2 separate regions of the Homo sapiens genome follow, and region 2 is linked to region 1. The links are contacts of gene promoters, found by promoter capture Hi-C in blood cells and fetal thymus (Javierre and others, 2016). All regions are on one chromosome and are shown on one strand. Each heading gives the region's core, a stretch centred on a gene start or on the middle of the fragment in contact. The rest is flanking DNA. Distances are from core to core; before and after follow the strand shown. Region 1 holds the start of ZNF821 (zinc finger protein 821). Region 2 holds the start of AARS1 (alanyl-tRNA synthetase 1).

Region 1 (5,448 bases), core at 2,484-4,983:
GCTGCACTCCAGCCTGGGCAACAGAGTGAGACCCTGATTCCAAAAAAAAAAAAAAAAAGACAACTCAATTTAAAAATAGGCAAAGGATTTGAATAGACATTCTCCAAATGGTCAATAATAAGCACATGAAAAAATATTCAACATCCTTAGTCATTAGAGAAATGCAAATTAAAATCACAATGAGATATGACTTTATATCCACTAGGGTGGCCATTAATGTCAAAGACAAACAATAACAAATGTTGACCAGGTTGTGCAGAAATTGGAAACACCATATGTTGCTGATAGGAATATAAAATGGTGCAGCCACTTAGGAAAACAGTTTAGCACTTCCTCAAAAAGTTGAACACAGAGGGCTGCGCGCGATGGCTCACGCCTGTAATCCCAGCACTTTGGGAGGCCGAGGCGGGCGGATCACGAGGTCAGGAGATCAAGACCATCCTGGCTAACACGGTGAAACCTCGTCTCTACTAAAAATACAAAAAAAATTAGCCGGGCGTGGTGGCGGGCACCTGTAGTCCCAGCTGCTTGGGAGGCTGAGGCAGGAGAATGGCGTGAACTCAGGAGGTGGAGCTTGCAATGAGCCGAGATCGCGCCACTGCACTCCAGCCTGGGCGACAGAGCAAGACTCGGTCTCAAAAAAAAAAAAAAAAAAGGTTGAATATAGAGTTACCATTTGACCAAGCAATTCCACTCTTAGATATATGTATGCACCCATGTCCATACATAATGTAAAGACATATGTTTACACAAAAACTGTACACAAATGTTCATAGTAGCATTATGCATAGTAGCCAAAAAGTAGGCCCAAGCCAAATATCGTTCCACTAATGAATGGATAAATAAAATGTGGCATATCCATACAACAGAATATAATTCAGCCATAAAAAGGAATTAAGTACTGATATATGCTACAACATGAATGAACCTTGAAAACCTATTAAGTGACAAAAGCCAGATTAAGTGACAAAAGCCAGACACGAGAGGTCCCATACTGTATAATCAATCACATTTATATGAAATGTCCAGAATAGGCAAATCCACACAGACAGAAAGTAGATTTGTGGGTGCCAGGAGCTGGAGGAAGGGAGAATGGTGAGTTACTGCTACTGGGTATGGGATTTCTTTTTGGGGTGATGAAAATATTCCGGAATTAGATACTAGTGATGTTGTCAACCCTGTGAATGTACCAAAACCCACTGAATTGTACACTTTAAAAGCATGAGTTTCATGGTATGTGAATTATACCTTAATTTAAAAAAATGTAACATGAGGTTCTTAAAATCCTCCTACCTTTATTGTTGGAATATAGAGCCCTAACAAGGTCATTGTAGAAGCCAACAAATATAAAATGGATTAGGAAGATATTTCAAGTGGAAAGTTAAATAGTTGAAGTGGCAAAATGATGACATAACTGTGAGTAGATTGGGAAAGTAGAAAAAAGTGAAGCTAAAAAAATATATATGGTTAATTAAAAGGTCTTCTAGATGTAGAACAAGTTTAGGTGAAAGCAGAGGAAAAATAAATTAATTCTTCTTTTTTAAAGAGACAAGGGTTTCACTATGTGGCCCAAGCTGGCCTCAAACACTTGGGCTCAAGTCATCATACCATCTCAGCCTCCTGAGTAGCTGGGACTATAGGTGCCAGCCACCATGCCTAACTTAAACTAATTACGTATTTAATAATTTTTTCATTATTTGGTTGTAACCTTGAATCACAACACCTCTGAGAAATTTTTAGAGCACAGGGAAGTCATAAGAATAGCATTATTATCATCTCATTTTATTTGGAAGTCAAGGAGATGGAATAAGCTGCCCAACATTACATAATAATAATGCATCCAAGAAATTTCACTGGAGGCAAACTTTACCTGTTTGCTACTTTTCTGTTGAAAATGTCAACTAAGTCAGCTTTAAAGTGACATAATAAAGCCATACTTGTATCCCTCAGTCCAAACTGATCAAGAATTACTGTTAAATATAAAAGCCAGTGTGTATTCTAGGTTGTATTCTTACACAAAATAGTACAAACACTTGCGGGTTGGATGATAATATTCCATTTTCTGTCTACTTGGAAACTAAGTTTTTAAATGAAATTAAAATGTTTCCTTGACTGAAGTTAAACAACAATAATTGCTATCTAAGTATCCTAATCACAATAAATAAATGAGTGAATGATGAATGAGCTATTTATCACAGAATTGTGAAGGACCAAGATCCCTCAATGTAATCATTCTATTACATTGAACACAAGATGCAGACAATGAGATCATCTCATAAAAGATTTAGGGGAAAGACAATTTGCAAGAATGTTCTATGCAAATACCAGGACTTGTCACTTTATCAGCAAATGACAGCATCCTCGTTAGCCCTGCCTTTGTGCAGCCAGTAATCACGAAAAACATTTGCATGATGCTTTTAGCCATTTGTTTTACTTAACTGGCACAACAACCCTCGGAGAGTAAAGGCCAGGAATTATTGCATCATTATCCATTTGACATCTTAGGAAGCAGAGGCTCAGAACAGGGAAGTGACTTGCCCAAAGTCAACAGGCTGGTGGGTGGCAGAGCTGGGGCTCAAAGCCAGATCTTCTAATACCAGATCTCATCTTCTTTCCTCTGCATTCCCTGCTTCTCCAGGTAAGCGATGCCAGGGCAGGCTCAGGCATTCTAGAAGAGAGGAAGAAAAGAAGGCAACAGGAACTAGGAGAGAGAAGGACGTGGACAGGAGGAGGTGTTTGACTAGAAGTGCGTCCAACCAGGCCGGGCACAGTGGCTTACGCCTGTAATCCCAGCACTTTGAGAGGCCGAGGCGGGAGGATCACCTGAGGTCAGGAGTTCGGGACCAGCCTGGCCAACATGGTGAAACCCCGTCTACTAAAAATACAAAAATTAGCTGGGCGTGGTGGTGCACGCCTGTAGTCCCAGCTACTCGGGAGGCTGAAGCACGAGAATCGCTTGAACCTGGGAGGCGCAGGTTGCAGTGAGCGAAGATCGCGCCATTGCATTGCAGCCTGGGTGACAGAGCGAGACTCTGTCTCAAAAAAAAAAAAAAAAAAAAGGTCCAACGGCTCTCCATTGCCCCCAAACATCCCTCAAGTGACAACAGTGCCACAAGTTCCCCTGCCCCTGGGTCTGCAGCCAATGTTATTTTATCAGTTGAGAATCATGTCAGAAAATTAAATACTCAAAAGAAATCTCAAGATTTCCCAGCTCTGAGGTTCTGACAGCTGAACTTGGCCCCTCCCACCAAGGCCCGTGGTCACATTCAAAGCCTCGGGAGCCGAAGCCACCGCGAAGCGTGGGGGAATGAGGCGAAGAGGGTTTGTGACGGTGGTGGGGATCCGGGCTAAGGAGAGGGGGTGCCTGCGGCGGAGCTGTGGTTGGGGGTTGTGGGTTTTGTGGCTGAACTCGATGGTGGGGTAAGAAACCAGGATCGGGGCTGGGTAGGGTGGCGTTTACACGTCCAGGAAGGTCTGGGGGAGCTGAGCGGCTGAGACAGCCAGAGAAAGACCCGGGAATGGGCGAGGCGGGGGGTTCCGGAGCCCTGGAACGCGGGCGAGCCCCTCTCGGGCGCCCGGGATTGGGCGCTCCCCGGAGCCCCTCCTCTCCAGAGCCCCTCTCCTCAGGCCCCGCCCACAACGCCAGGCGCGCGCCGGGCCGCGGGGAAGGGGACCTGGCCGGCGCGGGGGAGGGGGAGAGGGAGGCTCGTGCACGCGCCTCACTAGCTGCGGGTGCGCGAGCCGCGCGCTCCCGCCGCCCGCGTCGCCATCTTTTTCCCCCTCCGTCTGTCTGTCTGCTGTTGGCTTTGTCCGTCTGCAGCGCCGCCCCTCGGCTCCCCGCCACCGGCTCGGCTCGGCCCGGAGCCCCTTCCGCTCGCCGGGGCCCAGTCCCGGAGCGCCCCGGCCCGGCTGGCTTGGGCTGCGGTCCCGGGTCCATTGTCCGGCGGTCCGTCTGTCCGGAGGCGGGGCCCAGGGACCCAGAGCGCAGCGCAGCGCCGAGGCGCCGGGTAAAAAGACCCCCTGCCCTCCCTCCGGGTCCGGGCTGGGGATGCGGGCTCCTCGCCCCCTCGCGGCCGCCGGCTGTTGGTCCTTTTGTCTGCACTGGGGAGAGGGCCGGGGGCCAGCTCCGGCCTAGGGGGGCAGCCCGGGCTCACCCTCCCCGCTTCCAACCCCAATTCCTCCCCGGCCGCTCCTCCTGCTGCCCCTTGGCGCTCTCGGGCGCGGGGCGCGGGGTGCGGGGCCGGGGGGCTTTTGCGCGGGCCGCGGGCACCCCGCCTCCTCGGGCCCCGGCGGGGACGGCCCCGGCGTCTGACAGCCTTGGGTGGAGCTGGGGGAGGGGAGGATGGGCGTGGGCGTGCAGACCGGGGGGTATCAGTCCCCGCGTCTGGGTCTCGCAGAAAAGCTTCTAAATTTAGATTTCGGAGATTGTGTTGTCTAAGGGTTTGTCTGAGCCGCCTCGGAAGACCTCCGGCTCTTGTCAGGCTCTTGTCTGGTAATTCCTGGGAATTTACCTGGGCTCATGCTTGAAGAAGCAGAGGGACCATCTCGGCTGATTAGACACGCCCCAGACCCAACCCCAGGGGTCAGGTGAACAGCCAGGCGGCTAAGTGACCAGCTTTCTTGTCCTCTCCTTTTTGGCAGATACAGATCACTTGGATTCAGTCGAGTTTGCTTTGCTCCGTGGGAACTGCACCAGAGCTGGAGGTGGGAACGCACTCTCTTTTCATCAAGCTGAGATTTCACTCGTTTTTTTTCTTGCCAAAGTCTGTGGTGTGCCCTAGACGCTGCAACCTAATACCTGTGGGAGAGCAGAGACAGTGTTCAGGGGAGACGTTGCACCTTCCCGAGGACTCTTAACCTTGCTCTGAAGACAGACAGAACTGCTTTCCTTTTAAAATGGAATCCCTTTAGACCTGAATCTCACCGTTTACCTGTCTTCCCAGCCCATGTTCAGGCAGCTATCTATTTACATTTTTGGTTTGGTTTGGTTTCAGGTTTTGGCTTGGAAATTGAGGCAGTGTTAAAAGTAAAACAAAATGAGTGACCTTTAGGGCTGTATGTCTCTGGGTTTTATTAGCTTTAACTGCCTATAAAACAAGTCATCTGGCCTCTGAGATCTTGCTTTGTGGTCAAGAGTGTCCTTTCAGCGCCATTTATTTATTTACTTATTGATTTTCAACAGCCCATGACCCCACAGGCCTGTTTTTGTGGGTGTTTTTGTTATTATTTTCGTTTCGTTGTGTGGGAGGGGACTGTAATTGCTTATTTTTCTCTTGATCACTCAGGTGTGAAGTCCCATTGGGTACCATCTGGTCAGTTCCCCATTTGGCCACTAGGAGGATTATAAGATGCAGCGGGCATTGCTGATTTAAATACGCAGACACTCATCTCTGTCTTTTGACTTGGAGCTTTAATATTGAAATGTTGTCTGGTTCAAATTATTTGGCC
Region 2 (5,578 bases), core at 2,736-5,235, 1.6 Mb after region 1:
TACATCCTTCCAAAGCTATGTTAGTTTTTTTTTTTTTCCACTTGTTTCCATTTCTTTCTTTTTTTTTTCAATTGAGACACTGTCTCATTCTGCCACCCAGGCTGGAGTGCAGTGGCACGATCATGGCTTACTGCATCCTTTACTTCCCTGTCTCAAGCTATCCTCCCACCTCAGCCTCCTGAATAGCTGGGACTACAGATGCATGCCACCATGCCCAGCTAATTTTTGTATTTTTTTGTAGAGGTTGAGTTTTGTCATGTTGCTCAGGCTAGTCTCAAACTCCTGGGCTCAAGCCATCCACCCACCTCAGAATCCCAAAGTATGGTGATTAAAGGTATACGCCATCACGCCGGCCTGTTTCTGTTTGTTGTTTTTATTATTTTTTAAATTTAATTTAATTTAATTTTTTTGAGACAGAGTTTCCCTCTTGTCTCCCAGGCTGGAGTGCAGTGGCACAATCTTGAGTCACTGCAGCCTCTGCCTCAGCCTTCTGAGTAGCTGGGATTACAGGTGGCCGCCACCACACCCAGATAATTTTAGTATTTTTAGTAGAGATGGGGTTTCACCAGGTTGACCAGGCTGATTTTGAACTCCCAACCTCAGGTGATCTGCCCGCCTCGGCCTCCCAAAGTGTTGGGATTACAGGCATGAGCCACTGTGCCTGGCCTGTTGTTTCACTCTGCGGCCCAGGCTGGAGGGTAGTGGGGCAATCACAGCTGTTGTACTATTTCAGTTCTTTGGTTATCTTTCTCATGCCCCAAGATGGAGTTCAACAAATGTTCTACTGGAGAGCAAGCCATGTGCATATCGCTCACTCCCACCTACAGGCCTATTTGCTTAGCCTAGAGTAAATCAAGAACTTGCCAGTAGTTTCCTAAAATACATAATTTGCACATTGCATTAAGATAGCATTCTTTCTAGCATGTAGTTGACATCTACAAGAGAAAAATATCACAGAAAAATATCATTAGATAATTATATTAGAATGAGACTTTTGGGCCTCAATTACAATTTCTTTCTTTTTTTTGTTTTAAGAGACAAGGGGGCCGGACGCGATGGCTCACGCCTGAAATCCCAACACTTTGGGAGGCCAAGGCAGGCGAATCACCTGAGGTCGGGAGTTCAAGACCAGCCTGGCCAACATGGCGAAACCCTCATCTCTACTAGAAATAGAAGAAAAAAAAATAACTGGGCGTGGTGGTGGCGCCTGTAATCTCAGCTACTCGGGAGGCTGAGCCAGGAGGCAGATGTTGACATGAGCCGAGATCATGCCATTGCACTCCAGCCTGGGCAACAAGAGTGAAACTCTGCCTCAAAAAAAGGAAAAAAAAAGAGAGAGAGACAAGGGTCTTGCTTTGTTGCCCAGGCTGGAGTGCAGTCGCGAGATCTCAGCTCACTGAAGCCTTCAGCTTCTGGGCTCCAAGTGATTCTCCTTCCTCAGCCTCTTGAGCAGCTGGGACTACAGGCGAATGCCACCACGCCTAGCTAATTAAAAAGAATTTTTTTTTTTTAACAGAGTCTCACTATGTTGCCTAGGCTGGTTTCAAACACTTGGGCTCCATTGATCCTCCTGCCTTGGCCTCCCAAAGTGTTGGGATTACAGGTGTGAGTCTCTGTGCTGGCCTACAATCTCTCTTAATGGGTGAATAAAAAATTCTTATTTATTTATTTATTTATTTTGAGACAAAGTCTCGCTCTGCGGCCCAGGCTGGAGTGCAGTGGCCTGATCTCGGCTCACTGCTAGCTCCGCCTCCCGGGTTCACGCCATTCTCCTGCCTCAGCCTCCAGAGTAGCTGGGACTACAGGCGCCCGCCACCACGCCCGGCTACTTTTTTTGTATTTTTTAGTAGAGACGGGGTTTCGTCGTGTTAGCCAGGATGGTCTCAATCTCCTGACCTCATGATCTGCCTGCCTAGGCCTCCCAAAAGTGCTGGGATTACAGGCATGAGTCACCACGCTAGGCCAAAAAATTATTTTAATCTGTTTATAATTATTTTATTAATGAAGGTACTATCCTAGTAACAACTCTGGCAGCAGAACTAAATTATTGAGATTACAACCTGTATTATTTTATTCTGAAAGTACAATTCATACATACCTTTTGGCTTTCTATTTTAAGTGTGGTGGCTTAGAAGTCTGACTCATTTCCCAGATTGTTTAAGCTAAATATATGTTATTTAGGGCACTGTGGATCAGAATAAACACTTGTGTCTCCTGGTTTTGCCCTCAGCTGTGTTACTTAACCTCTCTCTCTGCCTTATTTTACTCTGTTAAAAGCAGATAGTAGTAGTAACTCATGATAAGGTTGTGAGGATTAAAAGCTTAGATTGGTGCCTGCTGTATACTAAGTGCTCAATAAATGGTAGGTTTGATGATTACTATTTGTGAGCAGCTATGAAGTGGGAAAGTAAATCAAATGATTTATGTTTTTACTGGCTTTTGGGCTTGACCTTCTTTTTGTGTAGGATGCTCTTTTTGCATAAAAAGTAGTATTTTTCTGTATTGTCTGTAACTTGAGTTATGACCAGCAGCACAATTTATTACCCGTGTATTTGGATATATCAGATGATGGAGGTAATAGTGCAGTGGTTAAGAGCATGGGCTTTGGAGTTAAATAGACACAGGTTTGGATCCTGTCTCCACAACTTACTATTGGGTGTGAACTTGTGCAAGGTAATTTCCTCATTTGTAAAAAGGGGACTCCAGCTGACCTCATACACAGTTTAAAAATCAAATGAAATAAGCATGTGAAATGTTTGATGCAATGCCTCACGTATAAATACATACATATTTTTCAGACAGGGCCTCGCTCTGTCGCCCAAGGAATGCAGTGTCACGATCAGGGCTCACTGCAGCCTCAACTTCCTAGGCTCAAGTGATCCTCCCACTTCAACCTCCCAAGTAGCTGGGACTACAAGCATGCGCCACTATGCCTGGCTAATTTTTATTTTTTATTTTTTTTTTTGAGACGGAGTCTTGCTCCGTAGCCAGGCTGGAGTGCAGTGGCGCCATCTCGGCTCACCGCAACTTCCGCCTCCCGAGGTCAAGGGATTCCCTTGCCTCAGCCTCCCGAGTGGCTGGGACTACAGATGCGCGCCCGGCTAATTTTGTGTTTTTAGTAGAGACGGGGTTTCACCATGTTGGCCAGGATGCTCTCGGTCTCCTGACCTCGTCATCCGTTGGCCTCAGCCTCCCAAAGTGCTAGGATTACAGGTGTGGGCCACCGCGCCCGGCCTTTTAAAAAATTTTTCGTAGAGACAGGGTCTAGTTATGTTGACCAGGCTGGTCTCCAACTCCTGGGTTCAGGTGATCTTCCCACCTTGGCCTCCCAAAGTGTTGCAATTATAGGCGTGAGCCACCGCACCTGGCATGTATATATGTATATGTATATATATATATTCACCCTCCTCCCCCAGGCCTATAAATATTAACTTTTTTTTTTCCAAAGGCAAATCGAGGACCAGATGCTGATCCAATCGTACCTGAACTACTGATGTTATTTCTTCCACACCAAATTCAAGGTCTCCCCCGGACAAGTGTAACCATGGGCACAATGTCAGACTCTTTGAGGGCTGTGTATCACTCAGCAACTAAAATAAACAACTATAGCAAGATATGTAACCTCTACCAAACACGTTACCGTCTCCCCTTTTTAACTATGTCAATTGTGGTGTTAGGACTTTGCCTATGGAAACCAAAATGTCGACCTCCGGGAGCCGGGGGCGGGGGGGGGCGGGGGGGGCGGGGGGGGGTCTAACTCGATCATGTGACGCACCCCATCCCACCTTTTCTCGCAGTTGCATCAGCCAAGTTAGAGCCGCCTTCCCAGGAATCCACTAATGAACGGATTCGTCCTCAGTTTGACTGGCATGTTGGTTGACCAATAATATCTCATGAGGTAAGGCGCGGCGGGGCACTTTCCGTCGGCGCGCTCTGATTGGACGGAGCGTGGCGGGTTGTGGTAGGTCGTGGTCTGAGGCCGGTACAGCTGCGCGTCTGCGGGAATAGGTGCAGCGGGCCCTTGGCGGGGGACTCTGAGGGAGGAGCTGGGGACGGCGACCCTAGGAGAGGTAGGCCGCCCTCGGAGAGCTCTGCGGTGCTAGGAGAGCGGCTGGGCCCGCAGACTGGGGGGAAAGCTCCGCAGCCGCAGTGGGCCCCAGGATCAGGCCCCGCGTGGCCTGGAGAAGCCCAGTCTGGGCTGGAGCGGGAGCTGGACAGTGTGGCCTTGCGTTCGCCCCCGGGAGCGCTGCGAGTGTCGCGGCCTCGGGTGGATTTGCTGAGCACCAATACCTCACGGTTGCCAACCTGGGGTTTTAGCTCCCTTGGTTTTAATCCCCTAGGGGCGGGTGGGGGCACGGGAGGAAGGATGGGCCAGCTGGGTGCAATCCTGCTGTAAGCCAGCCATTCCTTGATTTCTTAAAATTAACTAAACAGCTGATGCCGGTCCAGGCGCACCGAGACCGTCATCTTAAGCTGTTCTGTAAAACAGTTTGTATTTCTCGGTGTGCTTTGAAGCATGTGAGTTAATTCCGAACTTGGTGTTAAAGGATTAGTATACCTGATCACGAAATACGTATTTAGCAGCCACTGTACTAGATGCTGAGGATGTGCTGTAATAGCCCAGGGCCAGGCGCGGAGGCTCACGCCTGTAATCCCAGCGCTTTGGGAGGTCGAGGCGGGCGGATCACCTGAGGTCAGGGGTTCGAGACTAGCCTGGCCAACATGGTGAAACCCCGTCTTTACTAAAAATACAAAAATTAGCCGAGCGTGGCGGCGCGCGCCTGTACTCTCAGCCACTCCGGAGGCTGAGGCATGAGAATCGCTTGAACCCGGCAGGCGGAGGTTGCAGTGAGCTGAGATCACACCATTGCACTCCAGCCTGGGTGACAGAGGGAGACTCCGTTTCAAAAAAAAAAAAAAAAAAAGAGCCCAGAACAGTCGTTGCTGCTGGGATGGAACTGACAGCCTGATGGGGGAGGCGCACATTAAACAATCCATGAAGCGCGTATGGAAATTATGAAGGGAAACACTTGAGGCTGTGAGACAGTAAAAGAGGGGGAGCCTTATCAAGAAGGGGAAGGCGGCCGGGCGCGGTGGCTCACGCCTGTAATCCCAGCACTTGGGGAGGCCGAGGTGGGCAGATCACGAGGTCAGGAGATTGAGACCATCCTGGCTAACACGGTGAAACCCCATCTCTACCAAATATACAAAAATAGCCGGGCGTGGTGACTGGCGCCCGTAGTCCCAGTAGTCCCAGCTACTCGGGAGGCTGAGGCAGGAGAATGGCGTGAACCCGGGAGGCGGAGCTTGCAGTGAGCTGAGATCGCGCCACTGCACTCCAGCCTGCGCAACAGAGCGAGACTCCGTCTCAAAAAAAAAAAAAAAAAAAAAAGAAGAAGGGGAAGGCTGTCTTAAATAAGTGTCTTGGCCGGGCGCGGTAGCTCACCCCTGTAATCCCAGCACTTTGGGAGGCCGAGGCGGGCAGATCGCCTGAGGTCAGGAGGTCGAGACCAGCCTGACCAACATGGAGAAACCCCGTCTCTACTAAAAATACAAAATTAGCTAGGTGTGGTGGCAC

Evidence for each region. The method cuts DNA at HindIII sites, captures the fragments that hold promoters and counts their contacts. A CHiCAGO score of 5 or more calls a contact.
Region 2: a contact is called between the fragment with the promoter of AARS1 here and the fragment with the promoter of ZNF821 in region 1, in 1 of 17 cell types (M0 macrophages). The highest score is 6.4, in M0 macrophages.

The regions. Positions count from the first base shown.
Region 1 is chr16:71,882,467-71,887,914 of GRCh38, reverse strand. ZNF821 (zinc finger protein 821) reads left to right here and starts at 3,733. Exons shown (of 8, transcript NM_001201552.2): 1 at 3,733-4,007; 2 at 4,642-4,704. RefSeq lists enhancers at 2,367-2,867, 4,708-4,907 and silencers at 3,448-4,207, 4,228-4,347. The HindIII fragment of the contact is 5,845 bases long and covers 1-4,404 here.
Region 2 is chr16:70,287,913-70,293,490 of GRCh38, reverse strand. AARS1 (alanyl-tRNA synthetase 1) reads left to right here and starts at 3,985. Exons shown (of 21, transcript NM_001605.3): 1 at 3,985-4,070. It also overlaps a transcript of DDX19B not described here. RefSeq lists a silencer at 4,640-4,769. The HindIII fragment of the contact is 11,417 bases long and covers 2,324-5,578 here.